Regions from separate parts of the Homo sapiens genome. Here region 2 is linked to region 1. The links are contacts of gene promoters, found by promoter capture Hi-C in blood cells and fetal thymus (Javierre and others, 2016). All regions are on one chromosome and are shown on one strand. The core of a region is centred on a gene start or on the middle of the fragment in contact, and the rest is flanking DNA. Distances in the headings are between cores, read along the strand shown.

Region 1 (2,700 bases), core at 151-2,650:
TTAGAATTTAAAAGCTCTATCCCCAAAGCCTCCCGTAGTATACAGTAGGTACCTAATAACTTTATTAAATACGTGAATTTTCCCCATTGCATTATTGTAAATCAACCAATTCTGATTAAGCACTTTGGTCCATGTCATATTTTGTATTAACAAGTCGTCAAAACACTCCTTAAATTTTCCAATCTAAGACTATTTCAGCACTCTAACCGCAGCCCCCAACACAAAATCTATCTATAGCATCCCACTTAAAACTGCTAAATATTCCATATGGATGAAGATTCAATTTTCTTCCTCCTCTCCAAGCTAACGAACGCGTAGGCGGGAAAGGGGAATTTTACTGGCCACCTCAGCACCTGTTACATCTTCAATCAGTGAAGAGAGGTGCAGATGAGCCAGACAGCACATGGGAGACGTGGCCTTGCTTTCAGGAATTATATTTAGGTGAAACGTGAGTGATTTAAGCTAGAACTGCCCGAATCCCCAATAAAGGCCGTCTACTTCATTTAGAAAAACAAGGTAAAATAATCTGTAGGAAGTAAAATACAGTCGGTTTCACTAAAATAAACCGATTTTGAGGCCCCCGGAAAATATTGCGGGTGGGGGTTGGAGACGGTCTATATATAACGGGAAAACGAGAGCAGCTCAGCAATAAAATAAAGCTCGACTCAGGCTCTCGGGGGTATCCTGAATCTGGAAGCGAGGTGGACGAGGAGGAGAAGCCACAGAACCCTGGGACCTCCGTTCACCGCTTCGGCCTCCACCGCAGGCACTTGGGGAAACTGCACAGATCTCTGGGTCCGCCTATCTCCCACTGCCATCCCTGCAAAGAGATATCCCCCGGATACTCACATGGGCTCGAGAGTCTTGCTGAGCCAGGACTTGAGTGCCTCGAAGTTTTCAATGATCATTTTAGAAACCATCCACAGCGGCCCTAAGGCCCGTCACACTCCTCCGCCCGCCCAGGTCGCGGCCGCTACAGCCGCCGCTGCCCCCGCCCCCTCCTCCGCGCGCCGCCCGCGTGGGCCGCGGTGGGAGGCGCCGGTGGCAGGTTCCCGCGGGCCCCGGTCGGCGAACAGCTCTGCAAGGACCGCCGCAGGCCACAAGTGCACGGGGTGCCAGGAGCTCCCCGTCCCCGGCCCCCAGCCCGGGCTGAAACAGCAACGGTTTGCCCGGGCCCTCCCCCTTCCCTCTTCCCCAGCAAATCTACCCAGACCGGAAGCGCGACACGCGCTTAGACCCGAGCCTTCTCTCAGCCTCGGGACCAGGTGCTTGTTGGCTACGTCGAAAAGGCAAAAGTAAAGAAAGCGAAGGCGAAGGGCAGCTCAATGGGAACGATTCAGGGGGTCTTCCCGGCTCCCAGCACCCCCAAGAAGATGGCTGCCGGTAAATCTCGCGAGAATTGATGAAGTCTCGCGGTGGCTCCCGGAGCCTGCTGGGAGAGACGTAAGGTCGGCGGAGAATGCGCGGGTCGAGTGCTGTAGTTCGATTTTTGCGTGTGTGCGTTGCTTGCGGCCTTTGTGCCTTTTTATTCTTTGCTTACCTTTATGATATAAAGACCTTATTTCTTACAAGGAGGAAAAGACCGCTGACTTCAGAAACAGCGGGAACCCCAGCTCGTCCCCGGTAAGACGGCCGTGGCCTGTCAGCTGGAACGGTCCTGCCGGATGGATCGCTCTTTGAGAGCGTACACTCCCGCGTGCGCGACACCAGGCGGCCCGTAGGTTCCAGGTGCCGAGCACACTACCTCCTCAGTTTACCTAAGTGCCCTACCAGTATCATATTCTGTGTATGCTGTGATGTGAACGAGGTTTGTAAACACAGGCTGGTCTAATGGAGCCCAATGAGACCGCCAGAGGATTAGTGTCTTGTCCAACAGTACTTGACTTGCTGGTAGAGCCCTAATGACTGAGGGCTGCCCACAAGGGAAAGGTGAGAGAACCTTCACGTCTCTCAGGTAGTTTCCAGCCTGCACTTTCCCCCAGCTAAAGATAAGTTTTGTTATTTTTAAAATTCTCTTTATTTAGAGCAAATTCAGCCCTATCTCAGATCGGGAAATTATATAGTATCAAAAGAGAGAGTCTTCATATTAGCAACCCAAATAAATAAACTATTTTCCTGGGTGATCAAATAAGTTTGATTCCTGCTTGAGTTCTATTTAGATACTAGGTGGAATTTTACAAAGGGTCTACGTTCCATGAACTGTAATGGAATGAAAATATTCACAATCTAAAGACATTTTCAGTAAGTAGATCAATAAAAGCTCTTTATGAGAGACACCGATAGGCTAAATTGTTCTTAGGAACTCTTGAGTTTATAATTTGCTAGAGTGAAGTGTCTTTAAGGATTAGGTGGAAAGATTATGAACTACAAAGCAAGACATTTGTTTTAAAATACAGCATATAGAGTAGAATACAAATTAGAATCCAGCTACTGAATAACCAGGGTGTTGATTAAAGTGATTTAGCTGAGTGAAATAAACCAGACATGAAAGGACAAATATTATGATTCCACTTACATTAAGTACCTAGAGTAGTCAAAACTCCTAGAGACAGAAGGTGGAATGGTAGCAAGAGCAGGGGTGGAGAGGGTGCCCAGGAGAAGGGGAAATGAGGAGTTATATTTCAGTGGATAATAGAGTTTCAGTTTAGGATGATTTAGATTCTGGAGATGAGTGGTGTTGTGTGGGTTGCACAATATGAA
Region 2 (2,700 bases), core at 28-2,527, 1.3 Mb before region 1:
TCTTTTAACTAGACCATCTATACTTTAGTCTTGGCATGGACACATACCAGGATGACTCAACTTGGGTGACATAACCCCTGTGAACCTTGGTTCCTACTGTAAGATGGGAAGGATCATATTTAACTTATGTAGTTGCTGTAAGGGTAAAATAATGTGAAAGAGTTGTGAAAATTGATAAGTACGGGACAATATAACATTATTATTAGTGTGTAGTGATAAGTTTAATTTAAACACATGATTGTACAACTCTGCTTGGAAGAAGTTGCTGTGAAACTATTAAAGTATGGCTGACATTCTCCAACCATCTGACTTAAAATTTCCAAAATTAATTTTCACTGGGCAATGCCTCTGAAATATATCTTTTCCTTGATTTATTTATATAGAACAACAGAATTATCTGTTCTAGTTAGATAAAAATTTCTAAGAATCATTTAAAATTTACTCTGAAATTCCTTACTCTCTAATCTTAAAAGTCCTTGAATATATTAGTTTAACGTAGCTCTTTCATTAGTACACCACTTCCATACTGAACTGATGACAATGCTTATTTTAAAGCTTTTGTAATGCTTAAAAACATGCCTAGATCTTCAAAATTATGGTCACCATTTTGTTCTGTAATATTGTGTTTGTCTTCTATGAAAACCTGCCACATTCAATAGCCATATGTATGTTAATGAAAGAATAATAATGACAACTAATAGAACACAAGATGTGTCAGTGTACGACTATCAGAGCAAAATCAAAACAAAACTGCATAAAGACATTATGAATCTGGATCTGAAGCTTCTTGGTTCTTAACTAGTTTTATGTTAATGAAACAATTATTAGAACACACAAAACCCTTCCTTTTTAATTTGATAAATTGAGTGGTGATGTGAGTTAATTGAACCATCGGTGTGATAATAAGATGCAACTGGTATGATTTATCAGAGGATGACATGGTTACAGGCATTGCTTCCACAGAAAATAATGGCTGTTATTACCACTTCCTGAGGTGAGCAGGCAAGCCATAAACCTAGCTTATTGCTACACAGGTCAGAGGATGAGGGGTCCATTTTGCCTTTTGTCTTAGTGGATCCTTTAAGGCTGTCTCTTAATAATTTGGAAAATATTTTTCCATATTCCACAAACAATATCAATACTGACTTTGTTTAGGCTATTCTATAATCTTAACCTATTTAGCTAAGTATTAAAGTGAAAAACCCCTAGATCTCCAAGAGCTTTGAGTTCTAATGTTAGTAATTAAGGGGTCACCTTGGGTCTTCTTTTTCAAGTTGCATTATCTTGTAGAGATATTTTCGCAAGTGGTTATTCTAGTGGAATAATCCTCCAGGGCTCTGCCGCTTGAGAAGTAAGTCCTGTGCTTTTTCATATATGATTCAGAGAGAATATTACATGCTACTCATCTTCTGGTGGAAGAGAAAGAAATAAGTGATCACAAAGCCCTTTGGTTTGCAAAGAAAACATTTGAATTTACAATGTTATATTTCTTTGTATCCCAATGACTTCAAAGTAAATAAAAAGTAAATCAATGTCACTGGATCCATGAAATATATGTATCTGGACATGGGATCTATTTCTGCCACATAGTGATATTAGGAAAAACACTTGCCATATGTTCATACTATGAAAAATTAATCCAAGATCTTGGAAAGAGCTTGTGCCTATGCTGAAAAGGTTATATCTTAAAATACTAATAAAATCTTCATTCTTCATTAATCTTTTATTCATTTATTGGATTTCTCATTTTTAACCTCCATTTGTACATTTTTCAAGCTTTTTTATACACACAGCCACATATGTTCATTTAATTCTTAAAACCATTCTGAAGTTGACATGTCATCATATAATTTATTATAGAAAATGAGGAGCTCTTGAAAAGAGGAAGGTCTTGTTAATTAATCCGAGACAACAAGTATAAGCCAGGACTTCTCTGAGATCAGAGAATACAGTCACTCTAGGTAAGAAATTCATCAAAATTTTAAAAATTCACCAAAGAAATACAGTGGGAAAGTGACAGAGCCAGAATTTGGTTCCATGCTTTTAGGACCTAACATTTTCTAACAGTCCTTCCCAACAGATTTTGGGATTTCCTGATTTACTAATTTGAAATGATTAGAGGGAGAGAAGTCAGGGATCCCGGCCTGCAAAAATATTAATGCAAAGTAGATACTATGTCTTATATATCTTCAGGTATTTAACTTGAAACCCACCTGGTCTTCAGTGAACATTTGTGCATCTCAACCAAATCATACCACTTGACACTTCACCATTTTGGATATATTCCTTTAGATGGTAAGGAGCTTTCTGTTTTCAAAAGTCAATGAATAGAAAAACAATATACCCCCCCACACACACATATATTTTATATATCTATATATCTATACTCATACACTCAGATCAGCCCTTCCTTCATTGTCTGTTAATCTTGGTTTGCAAAAATCTGCACATAAATTTTACGAAAAAATGATGACTGTCAGATATTTTCTAGGCTCAGAAGAGAACAGAATCACACTGTTTTGGGAGATAGGAAAAGGGCAACAGCTTTGGTCTATTTAACCATTCTTCAAATAGTTATTATGCCAGTTTTAACCTTGTCCATTTTCACACCTTTACTGGCTGCACAGACAATGCTAATTGGAAACATTTTGTTTGTAGGACCTTCTGGTCTAGGTGGAAATTTTAATTTGTTTAACCACA

The links. The method cuts DNA at HindIII sites, captures the fragments that hold promoters and counts their contacts. A CHiCAGO score of 5 or more calls a contact.
Region 2: a fragment that was not itself captured here is called in contact with the fragment with the promoter of RBM26 in region 1 in 1 of 17 cell types (total B cells); the score reaches 5.6 in total B cells.

The regions. Positions count from the first base shown.
Region 1 is chr13:79,404,855-79,407,554 of GRCh38, forward strand. It overlaps RBM26 (RNA binding motif protein 26), which reads right to left and starts at 1,401. Exons shown (of 22, transcript NM_001366735.2): 1 at 850-1,401. The coding sequence starts at 920. RBM26-AS1 (RBM26 antisense RNA 1) reads left to right here and starts at 1,455. Exons shown (of 7, transcript NR_038991.1): 1 at 1,455-1,623. RefSeq lists a silencer at 957-1,156 and enhancers at 1,066-2,057, 1,387-1,686. The HindIII fragment of the contact is 7,810 bases long and covers 1-2,700 here.
Region 2 is chr13:78,144,495-78,147,194 of GRCh38, forward strand. All of the region lies in intron 1 of OBI1-AS1 (OBI1 antisense RNA 1), which reads left to right. Among named protein-coding and RNA genes, the nearest start is that of OBI1-AS1, 91 kb to the left of the region's middle. The HindIII fragment of the contact is 993 bases long and covers 782-1,774 here.